Regions from separate parts of the Homo sapiens genome. Here all the other regions are linked to region 3. Evidence: promoter capture Hi-C in human tissues and cell types (Jung and others, 2019). All regions are on one chromosome and are shown on one strand. The core of a region is centred on a gene start or on the middle of the fragment in contact, and the rest is flanking DNA. Distances in the headings are between cores, read along the strand shown. Region 1 overlaps UBE2G1 (ubiquitin conjugating enzyme E2 G1). Region 2 overlaps UBE2G1 (ubiquitin conjugating enzyme E2 G1). Region 3 holds the start of ANKFY1 (ankyrin repeat and FYVE domain containing 1). Region 4 overlaps ANKFY1 (ankyrin repeat and FYVE domain containing 1).

The links. The method cuts DNA at HindIII sites, captures the fragments that hold promoters and counts their contacts. A contact is called where the count stands out against the background at its distance.
Region 1: a contact is called between a fragment that was not itself captured here and the fragment with the promoter of ANKFY1 in region 3, in 4 of the 25 tissues and cell types used here (H1 embryonic stem cells, IMR-90 fibroblasts, bladder and 1 more).
Region 2: a contact is called between a fragment that was not itself captured here and the fragment with the promoter of ANKFY1 in region 3, in 6 of the 25 tissues and cell types used here (aorta, bladder, heart left ventricle and 3 more).
Region 4: a contact is called between a fragment that was not itself captured here and the fragment with the promoter of ANKFY1 in region 3, in 7 of the 25 tissues and cell types used here (IMR-90 fibroblasts, bladder, dorsolateral prefrontal cortex and 4 more).

Annotation. Positions count from the first base shown.
Region 1 is chr17:4,300,901-4,306,688 of GRCh38, forward strand. The region is part of intron 2 of UBE2G1 (ubiquitin conjugating enzyme E2 G1); the gene reads right to left. It also overlaps the pseudogene MFSD1P1. Among named protein-coding and RNA genes, the nearest start is that of ANKFY1, 40 kb to the left of the region's middle. The HindIII fragment of the contact is 3,920 bases long and covers 1-3,744 here.
Region 2 is chr17:4,319,113-4,325,113 of GRCh38, forward strand. All of the region lies in intron 1 of UBE2G1 (ubiquitin conjugating enzyme E2 G1), which reads right to left. Among named protein-coding and RNA genes, the nearest start is that of UBE2G1, 45 kb to the right of the region's middle. The HindIII fragment of the contact is 4,632 bases long and covers 454-5,085 here.
Region 3 is chr17:4,259,284-4,265,737 of GRCh38, forward strand. ANKFY1 (ankyrin repeat and FYVE domain containing 1) reads right to left here and starts at 4,696. Exons shown (of 25, transcript NM_001330063.2): 1 at 4,649-4,696. The coding sequence starts at 4,658. RefSeq lists a silencer at 3,993-4,142 and an enhancer at 4,793-4,882. The HindIII fragment of the contact is 4,200 bases long and covers 1,621-5,820 here.
Region 4 is chr17:4,227,064-4,233,032 of GRCh38, forward strand. All of the region lies in intron 3 of ANKFY1 (ankyrin repeat and FYVE domain containing 1), which reads right to left. Among named protein-coding and RNA genes, the nearest start is that of ANKFY1, 34 kb to the right of the region's middle. The HindIII fragment of the contact is 6,569 bases long and covers 1-5,969 here.

The DNA.
Region 1 (5,788 bases), core at 535-3,034, 39 kb after region 3:
TTGCAGTGAGCAACAGAGTCAGACTCTGTTTTCAAACAAAAAAAAAAGAGAGAGAGAGATATGTAACCAGCAGTTTCACATTTGAAAGTGTTTAAAAACCCAGGCCTAGTTCAATTTTTTTCCATGAGGCCTCCATTACTGTTTTTGAGTTAAATTATAAAAATCTTACAAGGATCAAATCCTACCATACTGCCATATTTATTTTATGTAAATAATGTGCTGTATGCTGCCGTCTGCAATTTGCTCAACATTGTTCTATTAATCTATAGTCCTGTTGTAGCTGTCTCTTGTCCATTCATTCTATCCGCCACAGTTCACTATTATTCTATGATAGTCAGAATCACATAGTCATGTGATCACTGACTTGGCTGTGCTCCGTGGGCACTGCTTTTCTGCCAGGTCCTGGAGTTGTCACCCCTTTTGCCTCTCAGCCTCCCACGGGCGCAATGGAGGAGAAGGATGAGAAAGCATGGGTGCTGCTGGCCCTTCTGTGGCCTCCAGTCACCTGGCTATGACTTTTGATGCTGTTATTGATGTGTTTCCTTGGCTTCAGCAGCTATTTTTGCTATAATAATCCTGCTGCCCTTCAGACTCAGGATAAACGGAACAGGCAGGTGAACACCATGAAATTCATGCTGCTATATGCCTGGTATTCTTGGCCCAATGTAGTTTTGTGTTTCTTTGGTGGCTTTTTAAAAGACCGAGTATTTGGAATATGATGGGGCACAATTACTTTTAGCTGTTTTATTTGCACTGGACAGGTTGTTTTGTTCTGGGTGGAATATTTAATGTTTTTTGGCTGATGGAATTTGAAAGACTTGTGTTTGGATTGGTGGGGAGTGCTCAGCAGTTGCCCAGGACATATGCTGTCAGCTGGTTTAAAGACAAAGAATTAAACCTGGTGTCTGGACTCCAACAATTTAGCATGGCTAGAATTGGAAGTACGGTAAACATGAACTTCGTGAGTTGGCTGTATTCTAAGATTGAAGCTTCGTGGGGTTCTGCTGGTCACACAACCCCTGGGGTCACACTTAAGATTGGGGGTATAAAATGTATTCTTTCACTAATCTGTGCCTTCCTTGGCTCTTGCTTACTTAGATGCGAGAGCAGAGAGAATCCTTCATAAAGAACAACAACAACAAAAAAAGGGGGGGGAAGTTTTTACATTAACTGATGTAAAGGATTTCTCCTTACCCCTGTGGCTCATATTTATCATCTGTGTCTGCTATTGTGTTGCCATGTTCCCTTTTATTGGACTTGGGAAAGTTTTCTTTACAGACAAATTTGGATTTTCTTTCCAGGCAGCAAGTGCAATGAACAGTGTTGTATATGTCGTTATCAGCTCCCACACCCCAGTATTTGGGCTCCCAGTGGATGACACGGGGAAGAACAGCATCTGGGTTCTGCGTGTGGTTGCAGCCACTCTTGTGTCCCACATGATGCTGGCCTTTATGATGTGGAGCCCTTGGGTTGCTGTGTCTTCTGGGAATCTCCTATTCATCGCTTGCCTGTGCATTTTGGCCAACAGTGGCATCTGTAGTTCCTGAACATCAACTGGGAACTGCATATGGCTTCACGCACTCCATTCAGAATCTTGGGGTGGCCATCATTTCCATCACTGCTGGGATGGATGATACTGGACACTGGGGGATATTTGTTTTTAGAAGTTTTCTTCATTGCCTGTGATTCTATGTGACTTTTATCTGTGGTCTTACTCTATTTTGTGAATCATGCCCAGGGTGAGAACCTAAATTATTCCACAAGACAAAGGGAAGAAATAAAATTTTCCCATACTTAATAAGTTTAAATGACTGTGTCATGAGAATGGGCTTTTGCACATCACTGGTTTGAAAATCTCCATTTTTAAAAATTTAGAGTTTAGTCATGAGAAAAAAAATAATGGAATGGCAAGTTGTATTTATATCCAAATACACCTATTTCAAAGTGTATTTGTGAGAACTATTTTAGCCTGTGTCTTCTGTATTGTGTGTTGCTGAAGAATTCTACAAAAGGCCAACCAACAATGAAAGGTTTAGAAAACTGCTCTGGAACATCCAGGTGAACTTCAGAAAAGAACAGTGAAAACAGAAAAACACAGGAGCTTCTTTTGAGATTGTCTTCATTAAGTATGTGTCTAAGGGATACAGCCTTTTCTTTATCTTACAGCAGAAAAAAAAAAAATTGTGACAGACATTCCCTTTCCTGGTAGGGGCATAATGCTAGAAGACATGTGAAGATATTTGTATGAAGTCTCTTTCTACTCACAACCAGTAGCTTGGGCTCTACTATGTGGTTATGTGGACTGCTGAGCAGTGACCCTTCTGAGTTGATTTTTCTGTTACTGAGTCCCCTAATCTCTTAGGGACACAAATTATAGTACAAACAGTCTGTACAGTTTTTCATATAGTCTAATTAGTAACTACAAAGTGTCCTTCGAATTATAATTGACATTTACAAAAATAAATAATAAAACTGCAAAAGGGGAAAAAATAATTTTTTTTTTGCTATTATAAGCAATAGAACATGGAACATTTGAAACATTTCCTAAGCATAGGGTTTTTACCCTAGAAATGAAACTGCTAAGACCAAATTTAAGTAATTGTTCAAAGTCACTCAACTAAGAAGAGTGGTAGAGTTAGAGAGCTAACCAAAGGCAGTCCCCAAAGTCCATGTTCTTGAACACTACGTGATAAACCGCATGGCATTACCACTGATCATTCCATTTCCAAGCAATGTAGGCACTAGGTTCATTCCCTCCAGAACTTCATTACAGAAGAGATGGCTTCTGCCTCTATGTCTCACACAGGACTGGAAAATAATTTATAACTGGAATAGAATTTTGCAACTGTAAAAGAATGTAATTCAGAGTTTTGGTTAACTGATTCTTCATTTTCTATATCTACCCAAGGCAATACTACAAAACACATAATCTTAAGATTCTCCAGATTTTTCATATCATTGCCAGTGCTTAAAAACAAAATAAATAAATAAGACATACTCCTTGAACAGACCAGCCACTGGTGATGAAAGGAAAAGAGAGATAAAAGTTATACAGTCATCATTCATTAATAATTTATAAAATGTTATAATGATACAGTGATATCCAGGTTTCTTAGACTTTCTGGTTTTGTTTGTTTGTTTAAGACAGGGTCTAGCTCTGTTGCCCAAGCTAGAGTGCAGTAGCGTAATCTTGGCTCACTGCAGCCTCCACCTCCTGGGCTCAGCCTCCTGACTGCAGGCATGCATCACCATGCTTGACTTATTTTTGTATTTTTTTTTGTAGAGACAGGGTTTTGCCATGTAGCCGAAGCTGGTCTCCAACGTCTGAGCTCAAGCGATCCACCCTTGGCCTCCCAAAGTGTAGGGATTATAGACGTGAGCCACTGTATCCACCCTAAACTTCCGTACTACAAACCTATTGCCACTTCTACCTGAAATTTTAATTTCTGTGGATATGAGTGGTTATCCATACTGTTTGATAATCAGTCTGAAAACAGTTGGTATACCACACCAGTTTCAGAATGTACATTTCATAGAAAGGCCTTAGGGACTACTGCACTGGAAAGACTCATTAATAAAAATAAAAATGTAATGCTATATAAATATGAGTATGACTGAATTAAGACTTGTGGCAACTATAGGAGTCTCAAAGTAATCCTTGAACGGTACCGGTTATCAATCACATAGACTGAAAAGAGAGTGGAGCGCCCTCTAGTGACTACATGAGGGCTAATGATGGCACAGAGAGATAATCACAGCAGCTTTTACAGAATTTTGGTACAGTATTTCTATTATCTAATTATAAAGTGGTGAATTAATCACTTAGGTCTGGGTACCATCTGAGCCTATACTAATTTATTTTCAATCCTATAACACCCCTCCCCCCAGCACAAGCCTCTACTTCCCTTCACAGGCAGTTATTTAAACGTAAGGTGTATATATTCACTTCCAATAGTGCTCTTCAAACAATTCCAAGATGGCCTCTACTCTCTCCATTCCACTGAAATAATTACAAGAACCTCACTACTTTCTGCTAAGAAGTTTTTTAAGAACTTTTTTTTTTTTTTTTTTAGATAGAGTTCTGCTCTTGTTGCCCAGGCTGGAGTGGGTGACACGATCCCGGCTCACTGCAACCTCTGCCTCCTGGATTCAAGCGATTCTCCTGCCTCAGCCTCCCGAGTAGCTGGGATTACAGGCATATGCCACCTCACCTGGCTAAATTTTTTGTATTTTTAGTAGAGACAGGGTTTCTCCATGTTGGTCAGGCTGGTCTCCAACTCTCGACCTCAGGTGATCCTGCCCACCTCGGCCTCGTGAGCCACTACGCCCGGCCGACAACAAATATTTTTTAAGCATTCTATGAAGTACATGGTTCTTGGTAGCATTCTAAAAGGCTTACTTCTAACAAACCTTTCTTCATTCCCCTGTACCTTCCTTTGCCTTTCTCAGGTCCTGCCCTAGGAATATGCTCTCTCTTTCCTGAGCAAAGGCTAGTGATCTCAGGAAGGCACAGTCCAGAAGTGACCACCAGTATTCTCAGCAGCATATACACACTCCAGCAGAGCTGCCAGAAATATTGCTGTGATTCACATCTCAATTCAACAGCCAACACTTTTAAAAATGTACACCAAAGACCAGAGACGGTTTTGTTTTCTTTTTTGAGACGGAGTCTCGCTCTGTCACCAGGCTGGAGTGCAGTAGCGTAATTTTGGCTCACTGCAACCTCCACCTCCCGGATTCAAGCGATTCTCCTGCCTCAGCCTCCTGAGCAGCTGGGACTACAGGCGCCCGCCACCATGCCCAGCTAATTTTTGTATTTTTAGTAGAGACAGGGTTTCACCATGTTGGCCAGGCTGGTCTTGAACTCCTGACCACAGGTGATCCACACGCCTCAGCCTCCCAAAGTGCTGGGATTACAGGCGTGAGCCAACGCACCAAGCCAGCAGATGCATCTTACAAAACAATACATACTAGTAAATTTAAGTTAGTCTGCAAACACTCAGAGCAGAAAAGAAGACTGTGGTCTTTGCATCTAGAAATGTACGACATGAAATATTTTTAAACTCTATTTCTCTTCTTCTACTGCTCTTTCACACCACTACATTGTTGTCTATCCTTAAGCCATTGGTTTAACAATTAATAGTCAGTTAATAGATTATCATAGAGCATAACAATAACTTTCAATAAACTAGGAGAAAGTGACCATTAGTTTAGTTTGGGATAAGAACACCTAGATTCTAACCAGTATTCGGTGGGGACTCAAGTAGAGAACCATGAAAAGAGACGATCTTGAAAGTTCTCCTTAGCCTTCTTAAAACACTGATGTGTGTAATACATTCTCAATTAAAATGTCCAAAAATTATATAACTCTTCTGCCTCCTGAGTTCAAGTGATTCTCCTGCCTCAGCCTCCCGGGTAGCTGGGATTACAGGCATGCCACCATGCCCAGCTAATTTTCGTATTCTTAGTAGAGATGGGGTTTCACCATGTTGGCCAAGCTGGTATCAAACTCCTGACCTCTCAGGTGATCCACCCACCTCAGCCTCCTAAAGTGCTGGGATTGCAGGCATGAGCCACCGCGCCCGGCCTGAAACTATTATTTTTAATAGCAATAGGTCTTAGACATTAGAGCTTCAAGCAAAACACAAAAACTCTTCCATGATCAAATTCAGTACAAAGGATATTGAATACAGCCATTTCTCCTGCTCCTTAAAAAATAATTTCATGTCAGTTTGCCAAAATATTTGTGGTTTTGCTTTGTTTTGTTTTGAGATGGAGTCTCACTCTG
Region 2 (6,001 bases), core at 1,520-4,019, 58 kb after region 3:
AGTTAAACTGGCATTCCTGAAGAGATCAGAATATTAAAATGTCATAAATCTATAAAGCTTTCTATAATAATAAATATACAGATTGAAAACATATCCCACAACTCAGAAAAAACTGGTACAGAATAAACAATAAAACATCTGTCAAATGAGGCACTGAACTTTAAAGTTAAATAATATCAAGGATATTCAGGAAGGGAAAAAACAAGTCCAGTATAGGTGGGTGGGTGGAACCAACCAGGTTAGCCTCAGATTTCTCCACAATACTCATTGTAGGTAAGTAACAGTGACGTGAAGAAATACGGAATCCTGAAGAAGAATGTGATAAAAAGAATGAGAAATGCAGCCAGGCATGGTGGCTCATGCCTGTAATCTCAGCACTTTGGGAGGCCCAGGCAAGTAGATGCTTGAACCCAGGAGTTCAAGACCAGCCTGGACAACACAGGGAGACACCACCTCTACAAAAAATACAAAAATTAGCTGGACATGGCGGCAAGCGCCTGTGGTGCCAGCCACTCAGGAGGCTAAGGTGGGCAGATCACTTGAGCCCAGGAGGTCGAGGCTGCAGTGAGCTGTAAGCATGCTGCTGCACTCCAGCCTAGGCACCTGTGTCGAAAAAAAAAAAAGAGAGAGAGAGAAGCCCAAACAGGAAGTCCAAATAAGATGGTAATACACATTTACATGTATTGTAAACTTTAAGGACTTAAGAAATGGTACTTTTTGAATTAAATGCTGCGAAATCAATCAAAATAAAGAATTCAGTAACAGAAAAACGCAGGTGAAAGGGACCAGTGTAGTTACCAACCCCATGTAAATGCATAAATAAAACCAAACCACCATGAATGCTATAAGCTTTTATATATATATATTTAATAATATATGCTGTCATTGCCAAGTGGCACACGTGTGTGTGTGTGTGTATTATTTTCTTGTTGCCATTGGTCCTATTTTTACATTATCAGGATTTATATATAAATTTACATTGTCAGGATTTTACATTGTTATTTTCTGTATTGTCGTAATTTTACATTATCAGGATTTCTATGTTAAAAAAGAATAACCAATTACTAAATATATCTATATTTATGATTAGAAAATGGGAAGGGAATGGAGGGAAAGGGAGAGAGGTACTAAGGAATACATATGTGTTTATTCCCTCATCCTGGACATCAGGAAGTCAGTGGGTTCTATCAAGAGTCTCAAAACTATTTAGAGGTTTTTATAGATTTTCTTCTCTCAACTTTAGGACTCTTTTAGAAATTAATCTCTTCTTGCGATAAATGTCTATCTATAGGTCAATAATTTCTTCAATATTACCTTAGCTGGGTTGTCATTCATATGCAACTTGCAACTTAAAGTATATAAATGGCACATCTATTACAACCTCAGATTTCAGCCCGCATGCATGCACTGAAAGGTGGATGCAAGGATGCCCAACGTTGGGAGACATCTGTAGGTGGTGGTTGTTATTACTAAGTAGTAGAATATTTTCAACTTTCTTTTATGTACTTTGATTTTTTAAATTATGAAAAAAGGCCATGTATCCTAAAGTAACATAGGAAAATAAAATAGAAGGCATTAGACACTACCTTCTTGCTCTCCAAAGACAACCACTGCTAACAATTTGCTGTGTATTCTTTCAGACTTAGGCTACACCACCATATACTATACAGAAATGGAATCATCCTTGTATAACTGATGGCCACTTAGCATAGTCTGAACACTAGATAACTCGTTCCCACCACCATACCTCTTTTCGTTTTCCCCCTCAAATATAAATAATGCTGCCTAGGTATGAGCTGAGAGGAGTGAAAAAAACAAAAAGTAAAAAAAAGAAATTATGAATATTTAAAAGTCTTTTTAAAAATAAATAAAAAGAAAAAACAATGCTGCCATTGCCAGGCGGTGTGAACCTGTAGCCCCAACTGTTCTGGGGGATGAAGAGGGAAAATCTCTTGAGCCCAGGAGAGTCTGAGGCTGCAGTGAGCTATGATCGCACCATGGCACTCCAGCCTGAACAATAGAGGAAGACCCCATCTTAAAAAAAAATTAATTTAAAAAGAATACTTTGCACTCTCCTTGTACATCTGTGGAAGTATATCTAGAATATAAACTATAAACTGAACTGTAAGTCAAAGGAACATATATATCAAGCCACAAAATGTTTACTTCAATGTATTATCCCAGAAACACTGTAGGCAACTATTTCCCTACAGCCTTGCTAACACTGGGTACTTTTACTGCTGGCTAACACTGGGCATCCTTCTGCCACTGGCAATTTATCTTTGGTGCATTTACATATTTTTATTCCCCCACCCCGTTTTTTTTACATTGAGTGATTCTCTTTTTTCTGATTATTTGGATGGGCTTTTTAAGCATTGTGGCCTTCTTTCTTTTTTTGGAGACAGAGTTTCACTCTGTGGCCCAGGCTGGAGCGCAGTAGTGTGTTCATGGCTCACTGCAACCTCCGCCTCCTGGGCTCAAGCAATCCTCCCACCTCAGCCTCCTGAGTAGCTGGGACCACAGGCACAAACCACCATGTCTGTCTTTTTTTTGTATTTTTGGTAGAGACAAGGTCTTCCTACGTTGCCCAGACTGGTCTTGAACTCCTGAGCTCGCCCCCCAACCCTGCCCACCCAAGTGCCGGGATTACAGGTGAACCCAGCCAATTTGCCCAATGTTTGTTGCTATTACTTAGAGTCTAAGGGATGAAGGCAATATTTACATTTAAACCCCTAATTTTCCTAGGCTATTAGTGTGCGATTCAAATGTGTGTCTATAAAGTTTATTATAATTAAAGCAAAAGTTTGAAATTTGAAAATTAGCAACATAATTTTTCTTTTTTATATTTTGATTGGACTAAGTGTGGTATGAAACTCAAAAGCCAAACAAGTCAGAATGACAGCTTTGTCTACATTTTGAAATGCAACAATCTGAATGACAGGTTTCTAACATATGACCAAGTATTAAACTACTTTTAATGGAAGTATAAGAAGTGGATTCACATAAAATGCACAAAGTTAAAAACTGGAACAGGTAATACAAATACAAGATGTTCTACTCACAAACACATATTAAGATGGTGTTGATTCCTCATTCCTCTAAGTAGTCTCCACCCACTTCTTGACATAAGAAAGAAAGAATAATGTAAGCAGCAGACCATGCCAGGTCCAATCCAAGATTTCTTCCAAAGGGGAACAACAGGTGTGATTATGTCAAAGTAGCTGTGATCTGCTGACACTAACTCACCCTCTGTTGTATCTTCCTATCATGCCTTGAACTCCTCCTCAAACTCTTCCCTAAGATGGCATTAGGAGATTATATTTCTCTAATTCAAATAACTATTTATTTGTATGTGCTTCTTCTCCTTATAATCACATTAGCAAAAGAAGAGAGCCCTGCTGCATGATCAGAAATGTTGTGCATGAAATATAACTTCTACTGAAAGGCATCTTGTACATGATCTTCTCCACATTAAGTAAAAATGGCTTCTAAGAAAATGGGGTGTCCTGGGAAAATACAGGTGAACCTATGTAAGAGGCCTAGGAAAGTACAAACACTGAAAGAAAAAATTGGAAGTAATGCATTTATTTAAAGGCAAGGGAACCAAAAGCTGAGCCCCTGACTTTAAGTATATCCCCTGTATCACACATAAGACTGTTTCTATGCAACAGAAATACAAATGGAAGGCAATGTTGATGTCTAACAGTTACGGTAATACTTCATACAAAAATGTATAACCACCAGCAGCATGGAACCACCGAGCACTGTGGCAACAGCAATGTGCATTTCATATCTCCGAAGTGATGGAGGTGAAAGGAGAGAAACAGGAGAATTTGGTGAGCAGCTCAGTTGCAAAGCAAGCCCTGAATTGTTTGAGAGGTTTAAGAACAGTACATAAATGCATAACATTAAATATCACTGATAAATAAATTAGCTTCTGCTGATAGCGAGACTGCAACAAACTTTCCCCCAATGAATTGCAGAAAACTATTAATAAAGGAGAAATATTGGAAAGCAAATTTATAACTGACAAAAATAGACCTTTCTTAAAGAATGCCATCTTGTGCTTTGGTAAGAAATTTAAAAAGAAAACGTGTCAGGCTAACATTGCTTTTATATTTAAAAAATTGAGCGATGTTAAGCTAAAGCCTTTGCTGATATACTCTGAAAACCCAACAATACTTAAGAGCAACCTGTAAAACAAAAGTAAGGACTCATCACAACCTATGAGATTAAATATCAATTACTGATGCCGTTTCTGATGCAGGATGATGATGAAGACAAAACTCCTTTAATTAAGGATTTTAAGGAAGAACCTAAGAAGGCATACGAATTCATCAAAATGAAAATGAATTAATCAGATAAGAAACTAGTCCCTTTCAATTTATTGCTGACCTCCAAAGTTTAGAGAAAGTCATCTCCCAAAGGAAAAATTATTAGATCTTACTAAGGAGACTGGGCTGAGAGAACAGCTTTGTCGCCCAGGCTGGAGTGCAGTGGCACAATCACAGTTCACTAAAGCCTTGACCTCCTGGACTCAGGCAATCCTCCCGAGCCTCCTGAGTAGCTGGGTCTATAGGTACATGGCACCATGCCCAATTCATTTTTATATTTTTTGTAGAGGCAGGGTTTCACCATGGGCATCATGGTCTCGAAGTGGGCTCAAGCAATCTGCCCACCTCGGCCTCCCAAAGTCCTGGGATTACAGGTGTGAGCCACTGCACCTGGCCAGTAACTAGTATTTTTAATGCTTTATATAATGGAAGAAAGGGGTGGAAATTTGTTACATAGATATATTTAGAGCATTTCATTTGCAACCCTTAATGTAATAATCCAGGCAAGGATGATCAATGGATGCTAAAACCATTAAGTGAAAAGGTCACTGGAGAACAGAATATGATGCCCAAGCATCACCCCACAGATTACTCACCAGTAAAAAGAGATAATGCATCTTCGCAACGGAGAAATCTGGCAATCACCAAATAATTGTTCGAATTTAGAACCATTAACCCAAGAATGTGTATCTTCTTATTTGATGCAAAATGGTATACACAAGCTTCATCTATGACATACTCTTGCCCCTCCCCCAAAATGTTTACACTGAATCAAATCAAGCTTCTTAGGTTAGACCTGCACTTTCTAATATAATAGCCACTAGTCGCATGTGGCTACTGAGCACCTAAGAAGTGGCTAGTCTTACTTAACATGTGCTGCAAATGTAAAATATAAACTGGATTTTTGAAGACTTTGTGAGAAAAAAGTTATGCTGATTCCATCTTGAAATTATATTTTGGGTATATTGAGTTAAATGAATTATTAAAATGAATTTTACCTATCTTTTTACATTTCTAAATGTGGTTACAATTTTAAAATCACACATTAGGCTTTCATGTGTGGTTCCCATGTTTCTATTAGATAGTACTGCTACAGTTTGCAGGAAATCTAGGGGATGTGGAAATAAGTGAAACAATTGCTTTATTTATAAAGTGAGATAGGGGTCTCACTATATTGTCCAGGCTGGTCTCAAACTGCTGGATTCAAGTGATCCTCCCAACTCAGCCTCCCAAAATGCTGGGATCACAGGCATGAGCCACCATGTCCAGCCAGTTAAATGATTTCTTGAGAAAATAATTAGAAAAATCCACAATGTTGAATAGGATACTCTATTTAACAACTAGTTTAAGGCCGGGCGCGGTGGCTCACGCCCGTAATCCCAGCATTTTGGGAGGCCAAGATGGGCGGATCACGAGGTCAGGAGATCGAGACCATCCTGGCTAACACAGTGAAACCACGTCTCTACTGAAAATACAAAAAATTAGCCGGGCGTGGTGGCAGGCTTCTGTAGTCCCAGCTACTCGGGAGGCTGAGGCAGGAGAACGGCGTGAACCCAGGAGGCAAAGCTTGCAGTGAGCCAAGATCGCGCCACTGCACTCCAGCCTGGGGGACAGAGCGAGACTCCGTCTCAAAAAAACCAACCAAACAAACAAAAAAAACAAAAAAC
Region 3 (6,454 bases), core at 3,446-5,945:
ATTTTATTATTATTATTTTTTGAGACAGTCTCTGTTGCTCAGGCTGGAGTGCGGTGGCGCGATCTCGGATCACTGCAACCTCCACCTTCCGGGTTCAAGTGATTCTCCTGACTCAAGTCTCCTGAGCAGCTGGGATTACAGGCACATGCCACCATGCCTGGCTAATTTTTGTATGTTTAGTAGAGATGGGGTTCCACCATGTTGGTCAGGCTGGTCTGGAACTCCTGACCTCAAGTGATCCGCCCACCTTGGCCTCCCAAAGTGCTGAGATTACAGGCGTGAGCCACCGTGCCCGGCCTTAAACATTGTATTTTAGTTGCTAAAACAAAAATGGGCTGGATGAAAAGTAGGTTAGGTAGCTCCTAGCAGACTTAGGTTATGCAGAGTATAATAAAAGGTGGACCAGCCAGTTTGCTTGACAAGAGGCTAAGGATGTATCCAGGCAACTTTTCTTGATGGCTAGCAGGTGATGCTCAATAAATTCATACATTCCTTCAACCACAGCCATGATTCTAAGCTGGGAGATACAGGAGTGAGCAAAACAGACCAAGTTCCTGCCCTCATGGGGTTTATATTCCAGTGAGGGATGCTCTCTAATGAGATGACAACTGAACAGACACTGAGTGAATAAAGTGGGTCAGTTGTGTGGAGAAACAGCGGAGGACTGTTCCAGGCCAAGGAAACTGCAGGGACAAAGACGCAGAGGTAGCAGCATGTCGGGCACACACAAAGAACGCAAAAAAGTCAGTGTGGCAGGGGCACAGTGAATGAAAGTAGGAAATAAGCTCGAAGTGTTAAGTGGGGCCCACACCCTGTTAATACTTAACAGAGAACTGGAATATATTTTAAGATTACGGAGAAGTGTGAGAGTTGGGCATTGAGGGGCAGGAGTATTAAGAAGAGTAGGAGAGACATGATCTGATTGATGTCTTAAAGGGAACACTAGAAACTGTGAAATTAGGCTGTGAGAGAGCAAAATCTAGGAGGAAAAGTTAAAAGCAAACTTTTAATTGGAACCTTTTGAAGTAGTTCACTTACAAACGAAGCTTAGGGCTGGGAGCGGTGGCTCACACCTGTAATCCCAGCACTTCAGGAGGCCCAGGCAGGTGAATGGCTTGAGCCCAGGAGTTCAAGACCAGCCTGGACAACATCACAAAACCCCAACTCTACAAAAAATACAAAAATTAGCCAATGTGGTGGCATGCACATCTGCACTCCCAGCTACTTGGGAGGCTGAAGTGAGGGAATCACTTGAGCCTGGGAGGTGGAGATTGCAATGAGCTGTGATCACGCCATTGTACTCCAGCCTGGGTGACGGAGTGAGATCCTGTCTCCAAAAAAAAAAAAAAAAAAAAAAAACCCACAAATGAAGCTTAGATTAAGCAGGATAGCCACAGAGATGTAGAGTTGGGGAATAAAACTAATTTTAGGACAGACTTTAGCTAAATATATATGGTCAAATGAATAGCCATGGATAGATGGAAGGAAAGAAGGTTGTTCTCTAAACAAGTCACATAAGAAGCTGTATCCTCAGTCTCTCACGATCCTATTTACTATTCCTAGGCACTATCTCCCACATTCTCACATGGCCAACCAACCATTATCAGGGAAGTTCCCATAGTGTGTTTACAGATCATTCAAGTTATATGACACAGATATCTGCTATTTATTTATATTTAAATAACTGTCTCCAAACAAGCATAGCAGGCTCTGAGAATCTGATTAAAGCACAAGCAGTAGTATTAATATCCCAAGAAACATTTTCTACCTAATCTTGCCTTCCTTTGCATAGCAAGCACCTTCAGATTAATAAGCTAAATGACCCAGAATGCCTCCTAGTTGAAGTCTGCAACATCGTTTCTAAAAAGCTTAAATCCCAACAAAAAGTTGGGACACAAAAGAGGTAAAAGAAAAACTGTGGCCGGCCGGGTGTGGTGGCTCACACCGGCAATCCCAGCACTTTGGGAGGCCGAGGCCGGCAGATCAGCTGAGGTTGGGAGTTCAAGACCAGCCTAGCCAACACAGTGAAACCCCATCTCTACAAAAATTAGCCGGGTATGATGGCGGGTGCCTGTAATCCCAGCTACTTGGGATGCTGAGGTGGAAGAATCGCTTGAACCCAGGAGGTGGAGGCTGTGGTGAGCCAAGATTGCGCTATTGCACTCCCGCCTGGGCAACAGAGCGAGACTCCCTCAAAAGGAAAGGGGAAGGGAAGGAAAGAAAGACTGTGAAGTCAGAACTTCATGACTGCTTACCTAGCTATCCCCCTGCTAATTTAACCCTGAAAGGATGTCTTCTTCGTGTGTTTATGGAGAGACACCCCACTGGCGAGATGTCTCTCAAGGCGCTTGCCGGATGATGAGTATGCTGACTCAGCCTGTATGAGCTCCTCAGGGCTGGAACCCGACTGCAAAGCACAGCAGGTGCTCAGTAAAGCTGCTGAATGAAAAACCAGCAGCCCTCCACAATCTCAACCTTGCTAATGTATTCCCAAAACACCGAACTTACCTTCCTAAGTGCAAAAGCGCCAGACTACCCCTTACCTCACAGAAGACCTTCCTGAACCTTTCTACCCGCCTCACTCCTGTGAGCAACAGCTGTCTGCTGTGTACAACATTCCGTGATTTACTCAAAAAGCAACTTCAGGGAATCCCTTGGGTTTTTGCTCCTTTTCTTACTCCTCTGCCTTCAGGCAATATTCACCTAAAGTTTCCCCCTCCAGGGATATGGTAGAAAAAGTAAAGACAAAAACTGGGTGCCTGCCGGGCGCGATGGCTCATACCTGCAACCCCAGCACTTAGAGAGGCCAAAGCGGATGGATTGCTTGAGCCCAAGAGTTGGGAGACCAGCCTGGGTGACATAGTGTGACCTAGTCTCTCTCTTTTTTAAGACAGGATCTTACTCTGTCGCCCAGGCTGGTGCAGTTCACTGCAACCTCCGCCTCCCGGATTCAAATGATCCTCCCACCTCCCTAGTATTACTGCGAGGACCACAGGCACCCGCCATCACTCCATTCACTCCAGGCTGGAGTGCAGTAGCACGATCTCAGCTCACTGTAACCTCCGTTTTCCGGGTTCAAGCGATTCTTGTGCCTCATCCTCCCGAGTACCTGGAATTACAGACACGTGCCACCACACCTGGCTAACTTTCGTATTTTTTGTAGATACGAGGTTTCGCCATGTTGCCCAGGCTGCTCTTGAACTCCTGGCCTCAAGCGATCCTCCCACCTCGGCCTCCCAAAGTGCTGAAATTACTAGCGCGAGCCACCACACGGGGCCAAGACCTTGTCTACACACACACACACCCCTTTTTAATTAGCCGGGTGTGGTGGCGAGCGCCCCTGGTCCCAGCTACTCAGGAGGCTGAGGCAGAAGGATCGCTTGAGCCCAGGAGACTGAAGCTACAGTGAGCCGTGACCGCGCCACTGTACTCCAGCCGGTGGGACAGAGCGAGACCCTATCTCAAAACACACACACACACCCCCCAAAACCAACTGGGTGTCAGTCACAGCTATCTCTGTAACTTTGCCTAAATTCCTTTATCAATAAAGGCAAATACACACGCCAGGCCTCCTTCACGAGGTTATCTGAAGTCTAATGCAAATGAGAAAAGCCGACCAACTGTCAGGTGCTGCCCAAATCTAAGATCCATCAAGTGATGGGTTCAGTCAAAGCTCAAAACCAACAGGAAAGGTCGTGGCCAAGCACACTGCAGTCACTCAATAAACAAAGGTCAAATAAGGAATACTGTTCTCCAATAATGGGGTGAAGAGGAGAACCAGGCTGCCCAGATCCAACAATGTCCCTGCACGATTCCTGACAGGTAACTCCCCGTCTCTGGGCCTTCTTTCCCCCTACGTGTACAATAAGGCTTTGACAATGAAGGCTTCTAATTACTGCTACATTAAGACAGGCAGACTCTGAGAGACCAGAGTGCCTTAAGCTGCAATGTCATGAAAAGTGCACGAGACCAGAGGGTAGGCACTGGACGGGGAGGCAAAGGCACAGAGGTCTGGTTTGAGCAGCCCTCTTGTGAGCAGTGTGACCTTGGCCAACTCCCTTCCCGCAAACCCCTTCCTCCCGTCTTCATCTGTACGCCTGGCCTGAAGGCTGGGGTTGCAGCAGAGCCGGAGCCGCCAGTGCGCCCGCCTGAAGCGTGGGCCAGCTCGCTGCTGCCTCGCCCCCACCCCACCCCACCTCACCCCAACCCAGCCCGAGGAGACCCACGCTCTTCCGCAAGCGAGGGATGGACCCCTTCCGGATGCAGAACGTGCCAGGACAGCAGTTTCGATTTCCTAAGGAGAAGGCTTACTTCCCCCGGCGTCCCGGCACCGCCGGCAATCAAGAGCCTCCCGTGCTGCCCTCGGGGCCCCGCGGCTGCACGCAGCACCGGCGCGGGACCTGCCAGCCCGGCTCCGCAGCCGGCCGCAGTCCCGCGGGGTCGGCATCGCGGGAGGGACGTTGTCATAGGAACCGCGCTCCGGACCCCGGCCCGAGAAGCTCCGGAGAGGCTAGACAGGAAGGCTCGCGAGACCCGCGGAGCCCCCATGCAACCACGCCCGGCCTTCCCCTCCCACGGCAGCTTCGCACGGCCAGCAGCGCCCCCACAGCTCCGTGTCTTCCCGCGCGGCTCCACAAAAAAACCCTACCTTCCGCCATGTCTGGCCCGGCACTGCCTGCAACCTCGCGAGAAGTGCGCGGCTCAACCGGGGCGGTGCGGAACGGAATCACCAAGTCTCGCGAGAATCGCGGGAGGCGCGGCAAAAGGCGGAGCCGAGGGTAGGAAAGTGGGTGAATGAAAGCGGAGGGGGTTGCTGGACTCTGGGGGAAGCGGAGAGCCGGGTTTCTTTTTACCGGGTATTTTTGAGGCTCGAGATTTATTAAGCACTGACTGAGCCCTGTCATATTCCACGTCCTTGGCAGGGCACCGAAAAGGATGACACAACGAATGCAGACTACTCTGGAGAAGCTTGGCAATGAGAGGGTCGAGAGAGGGGGTTTGTTGGTCCTTAGGTTTGTAAAGAAAGGAGAGGCTGGGAGAAAGGAGTCAGTGGAGAGGTCCCTGGGGAGGTAGGATGCTCTGCATGCGATGCAGAACTCAGGAAAACGGATTAAATTTAGACTAGAGGCAGGTCACCTGTTATTCCACTAAAACGGTAGGAAACAAGAACATGCGTGCAGATATATAGGGGGGAAGAAAATCAGGGAGATCGTTTGATGACATCGATTTTATGGGTGAAGTTATGAGACAAGGAAGGAGACCAAGAAGAGCAAAGAAACTTTGGAAGAGGACGCTGAAGTTGGAAGGCCTGGTTTCATGTGCCTCATGTATGTGTTGATGGATCACTTTTTTCTAGAACTCAGCCACCAGGCTGCAGTAGCAGATATTTTGAATTATAGCATTTATCCAGGGCTTGGGATTGCATTGCCCAAAATAAATTGAGGGTGCTATGAGACGACAGCCCAGGCCATCAAACGTGGGATACAGACTGGCTAGGGACTGATGGAGGAGCCACGAAACTGCAGGTCTCTGATAATTGAAGGCCAGTGCAGTGCAGGCAATGTTGTGAGAGCTTGGTGGTTAAAGTGGCAAACAGGTTCATAGTGAAGTAGCACTAGGAGATGAGAAAAGTCCAGGACAGGCCGGGCGTGGTGGCTCACGCCTGTAATCCCAGCACTTTGGGAGGCCGAGGAGGGTGAATCACCTGAAGTCTAGAGCTCAAGACCAGCCTGGCCAACATGGTGAAACCCCGTCTCTACTAAAAATACAGAAATTAGCCGGGCGTGGTGGTGCATGCCTGTAATCCCAGCTACTCGGGAGGCTGGGGCAGTAGAATCGCTTGAACCCGGGAGGCAGAGGTTGCAGTGAGCCAAGATTGTGCCACTGCACTCCAGCCTGGGCAACAGAGTGAGACTCTGTCTCAAAAAAAAAAAAAAAAAGTCCAGGACAGAGCCACGGAATAGAGTGGCTGAAGTGGAAGTGAGAAGGCAGGAAAATTAGATGTTGGGATTTAGAGGTAGGAAAGGAAAGGAGCATCAGGAGCTAAAATCTTTGGTGAATGTGGGGAGGACTATACGATTAGTTAAGACAATTGCAAAATGGAGGGCTAAACAGTAACATAGCTGAATAGCATGAGACCTTTCTTGTTTTTTGTTTTTTTTTTTTTTCAGAGATGGAGTCTCTGTTGGCCAGGTTGGTCTTGAACTCCTAGTCTCAAGCAGTCCTCCCACCCCAACCTCGCAAAGTACTGAAATTACAAGCATGAGCCACCATGCCCGGCCCAGCATGAGACCTTTCAAAAAAGACTTTTACTCAAGGGAGAATCAAAAGAATGCATCAATAGTTCAGGATTGCAGGGAAAGTGGTGGCCTTGGAGGACAGCCAGGAGTAAGAGACAAAAGGTTGGAAGGAAGGATCTGAATTAGCTATACCTGGTGGTGCAGGCTTTTAGTTG
Region 4 (5,969 bases), core at 1,744-4,243, 34 kb before region 3:
ATTTTAAAAATTTGTTTTCAAAAAGCTTCCCAAAAAGCAAATTCTGGACTTAGATTACTTCAGTGGTGAATTCTATCAAACATTCAAGAAATAAGCAATAACATCAATCTTAGAAAACATTTTCAGAAAACAGACAATGAAGGATCATATAAGGCCTATATAACCCTAATAGTAAAATCTGATAGAGACATTAAAAAAAATTACATACCAATATCCCTCATGATTACTGTTGTAAAATTTTTAACAAAATATTGGCAAATAGGATCCAACAACATACATAAAAAAGGGTAATATATAATGACCAAACAGGTTTTTACAGCAGGAATGCAATCTTAGTTTAACATCTGTAATTCATCAAAAATTATATAATCATTTCTATAGATGTCAAAGAAAGTGTTTGGCAAAATTCAAAAACCAATTCAGGTAACTTATCTAGAAAACCAGGAATACTCAAATTGATAAAGCGTATCCAAGAAAAACCTACAACTAATCTATACAAAATGATAAAAGATCTCATTGTTTCTCCCTGAGATCAAGAACAAAGGATGCTTGCTTTCAGACAAATGACTTGTATCTAAATTATATACAGAACTGTTAATACTCAATACTCAAAACTCAATACAATGCCACATTTTGAAAAGGCCAAAGATGTGAATACTTTATAAGAAAATATAAAATTGTCAATAACACACAAAGAAGGTTCAGCATTATTATCAGGGGAATGCAAAATAAAACTGCCATGCACTCTGTATCCATTAGAATGGCTAAAATTGTAAACAAAAACCAAAACAACCTGCCTATATCAAGCGTTAGTCAGGATGTGAAGCACCTGGAGCTCTCATATCCACGGCTAATGGGAATGTAAAATGGTACATCCATTTTGCAAGACAGTTTGGTAGTTTCTTAACATTAAACAGTCCCTCCTAGATATTTACTCAAGAGATATAAAAACATGTCTACACAAAGGCCTTACACAACTGAATACAGGTAATTTTCTTGCTAATAAAACCCAGAAAGAACACAAATGTCCATCAACAGGTAAATGCAAAAAAAAAGTGTGGTATTTTCATACAATGGAATACTATTCAATAACAAGGAATGAATAATTAAAACACAAAGCAACATACTAAGGTGTGGGGTGAATGTCAAAATCTATATGCTAAAAGAAGTGAAAGAAGCCAGACAAAAGGGACTCTATGCTCTATGATTGCACTTCTATAAAAGCCTAGAAACTGCAAACTAATCTATAATGACTGAAAGCAGATCAGCATTTAGCTGCAGAAGTGGATGGCAAAAGGGATGGATTGCAAAGAGACATGAGGAAAGCTTTAAGGATGGAAATGTTTTTTGTTAGTTTTTTTTTTTTTTCTTGAGACAGAGTCTCACTCTGTCGTCCAGACGGGAGTGCAATGACGCGATCTCGGCTCACTGCAACCTCTGCCTCCCAGGTTCAAGCAATCTCCTACCTCAGCCTCCCAAGTAGCTGAGATTATAGGCATGTGCCACCATGCTCGGCTAATTTTTTGTATTTTTAGTAGAGATGGGGTTTCGCCATGTTAGCTAGGCTGGTCTCAAACTCCTGACCTCAAGTGATCCACCCAACTTGGCCTCCCAAAGTGCTGGAATTACAGGCGTGAGCCACCACACCCAGCAAGGATAGAAATGTTTATGTTGATTGTGGCAGTGGCTTCACAGGTGTATTCGTATGTCAAAACTTATCCAATTGCACACTTTTAATGTGGGCAGTTTACTGTACTTCCATTACACCTCAATTTGGAGGAAAAAGAAACCAAACTGACAGGCAGCACGGCACTGTGGTTAATGGCACGAATTCTGCAGCCAAACTACCTAGGGTTCAAATCCCGGCTCCAATCCTTGCTAACTGTGTGGAGTTAATACATAATAAAGCACTCAAAACACCACCACCACATAGTAACTGCTATGTAAAAACTTGCTATTATTACAATAGACTATTTAGAAATTGATCACAATGAAAACAGTACCTACCAAAATATTTGCAATGTAGTCAGATTCATACTATAAAAAAAAGTCATAGTCTTAACCTTATTAGAAAATGAGGCCAGGCATGGTGGCTCACACCTGTGATCCCAGCACTTTGGGGGGCCGCAGTGGGTGGATCACCTGAGGTCAGGAGTTCAAGACCGGCATGGCCAACGTGGCAAAACCCCATCTCTACTAAAAATACAAAAATTAGCCAGGCGTGGTGGCGGGCACCTGTAATCCCAGCTACTCAGGAGGCTGAAGCAGGAGAATCACTTGAGCCCAGGAGGTGGAGGTTGCAGTGAGCTGAGATCACACCACTGCACTCCAGCCTGGGTGACAGAGTGAGGCTCTGTCTCAAAAAAAAAAAAGAAAATGAGATAAAAGATAGTAATTCAACTCAAAAAGAAAAAATAATTCAAAGGAATTTCAAAGAAAGATTTAATACAGATAAAAAGAAATTATTGAATTGGCTAAATATAAATAAAAATTAAAAGAACAATGAACCTAAACCAAATCTGCAATAAGCCAACACAAACACAAACTTAACATAACCAAAGATTGGTGAGAAAAACCCAAAAGCAGTATGAGGATTAAGTAAAGAATATAACCGCAGATAAAATAGATTATTTTGAGCTCTGAGAGAATCTTTGGGCATGGGACTCAGCTGCTGGCAGGAGGCCACAAGGCTGTTTGAGTGTCCTCATGACATGGCCGCTAACGTTCCCCCAAAATGAGCAATCCAAAAGAGAGAGCTAGGAAGAAGCCACAGTGCCTTCGATGAAGCCATCTCTCAAGTCACATGCTGCCACTTCTACCACACTCCATTCATTAGAGGTGAATCAGCCTATACTGAAGAGGAGAATTTGAATCCACCTTTGCAGGGAGAAATAGCAAAGAATTTGTGAGCATATTCTTTTTTACTCCTTTTTGTGAGCATATTCTAAACTTCCCGTGGATGTCATCGAAGGAACACAGTATGATTTAATACTGAAACTGAACAGCCTTAACCTAGTAGTTCACACAGTAGCCAACAGATGTTGAATATTGCTGTGCTTCTCTTAAAAATTTAAATAGCACACAGCTCCCCGAGTACACAGTTTGGGAAACTATGCCCTTTCCACTGCAGAGTGCAAGCTTTCCAGATGGTGCTTCAGGGGATAGCTTTCCCAACCAGAGTGAAAAGGAATAAAGGAGGATGTTTTCTGCTGTTTGGAATGGCTTGACACTATCCAGGACACATTCCAGGAGAGCTGAATGACTCATACCCTGAGCCCTTATGCCAAGGAACTGTAAGATCTTTGCTTGAGAAAGTATGCAACAAACTCTAGCTTCAAAACAGCCATTCTAATCCATTGGAACCTCTCATCGTGTCAGCTGCTACTGGTAAAGTGCTACAGAGAGGCCATAAACAGATCATTTTGCTAGAAGCAAATTGCTTTACTTCACCAAGAAGTAAATATAATACTTTCCTTGTGGACTCAGATTTGTTATGCTTTGCTGAGCTAACAGTCATATTCTTTCTCTTCCCACTTGGTCAATCAGTATCTTTATAAACTTTTATCTTTTATTCTTTTTTATTAGGGTTTAACAGACAAAAATTATATAGAGTTAATGTATGACATGTTTTGATATATGTATGCACTATGAAATGGTTATAAGCTAATTAACATATCACTTCATATATTTAAAGATACCTTAGTAAGAAATAAAAAAGCAAATTTCTACTTTGTTTACATTTTCAGATACTTTCATACTTTGAGAAAAGCTGCAGAGCATCCCCATATGCCCTTTACTCATCTTCCCCTATTATTAATACAGCTTATATAACCATAGTACAATGATCAAAATTAGGTAACTACGTAATACATACAATACCAATACCATTAACTAATTATAGGCCCTATTTTGCCAATTTTACCAGTAATACCCTTTTTATGGCCAGAATCCAACTGAGGATTCTACACTGCATTCAGTGTTAGTCTCACCCAATCTGTAATACTTCCTAAACCATTCTTGTTTTTCATAACCTTGACATGTTTGAGAAACACTCTGGCTGATTATTTTGAGAAATGTCCCTCAATTTGGGTCTGATGTTTTCTCATGAGTAGATTGAGGTTATGCATTAATGGCAAAAATCCTATACAAGAGCCAGGCAGAGTGGCTCATGCCTGAAATTCCAACACTTTGGGTAGCCAAGGCAGGAGGATCATCTGAGCCCAGGAGTTTGAGACCAGCCTTGGCAACACAGCAAGAGCCCATCTCTATTAAACAATTAGCCAGGGATGGTGGTGAACACCTGTACTCCCAGCTACTTGAGAGGCTGAGGTGGGAGGATCTCTTGAGCCCAGGAGTTCAAGGCTTCAGTGAGCCGCGATAGTGTCACTGCATTCCAGCCTGGGCGACACAGTGAGACCCTATCTCAAAAACAAAAAAAGAATCCTACAGAAGTGATTGTGCCTTCATCAGTGGATCATATCAGGTACAAACATTTCACTTTTTTGAACAAGGTATGATTCATATATCCAAACACCTTTAAAGTGTATATAATGCCTGTTGTATTTCATCAACATATGCTAAAATTCTCATAATCAAGGCTGTGTGCAGTGCCTCACACCTGTAATCCCAACAGGCCTTTGGGAGACCAAGGCAGGAGGATTCCTTGAGTCCAGGAGTTCAAGACCAGCCTGGGCAACATGGCAAAATCTCATGTCTATAAAAAATGAGACAGGCATGGTAGCACACACCTGTGGTCCCAGATACTCAGGAGGCTGAGGTGGGAGGATCACCTGAGGCCAGGAGGTCAAGGCTGCAGTGAGCCGTGATTGCACCATGGCACTCTAGCCTGGGTGACAGAGTGAAATCCTGTTTAAAAAAAAAAAAAAAAGAAAGAAAGAAATATCAATTAGACAAGAACATCAAAAAGAAAAATGTGGAGTTTTTCTTACATTCTAAGATGTAAGTTTATGCAAGCAAGAATTTAATTTTGTACACTTTGTATCCCTAACACCTTGAAAAGCGCTTACCACTCAATGTTTTTTATATGAATGGATTAATGTTGAAAAAACAAAACACCAATAAATTCATTAAATGATTTTATCAAGCCTGTTGGTGTGGAAAACATTTGAGCCTTTAAAATACAGCTTTTATGCTATTTATACACCTGTTTACAAGAACCTATTTCCAATCTTCCTCAAATTGCTGCCATGAAGTGTCAGTGCTTCCAGGTATCACATAACACACAGGCTTCCCAGGCAGTCTCAGCAACTGCAAGCCCAGGTTTAGGCAATGAGCAGGACTGCTGGGCAAAGCACACAATTCAACAGGAACAGGCCCACACATGCCACTACCACCTTGGACCTCTCCCCCATAACACATTTCAAAGATACATTTCATTAAAATGTCATAAAAAGTAAAAATGCCACATGTTCTCCTATCTGCTATCTTCACAGGTGCTTGATCTGTGAAAGCCACAAAAACCATTTACTTTGAAGCGGATCACTCCTGAAAGCAAACCTTATAGTAGAATCAAAACACGCTTATTATTTACAACTGGAGGAGAGTCTAGAGACATTTAAAGACATTAATATTCTATTTTCCTGAACTCGAGAAAACTTCCTGACTCACAGTGATGCAATCTTGTGGCCAGACAGCACTGAATTAAGGCCAGACAGCACTGAATTAAAGCTCTAAACGTTTGGATGTACTAAAAAATTTCAGTGTAAAGCAAAATTTTTTAATTCAATGTTAAAATTGGCTTTTTATTCCTTGATGTAATTTTCTGTGTTGTGTCGTTTTGTTTCAGAGAGCAGCGATGTTTCGTTTTTGCCACTCTCATTCATTTTGGTGGCAGTCGATATTTCACAATTAAAATAAAACTGAGGAACATTAACACTGTCTGAGTGACCTACGACAGTATCCCAGAAGTCAGATAATGAAGAAAAAAAAAAAAGTAGGAATATTTCACA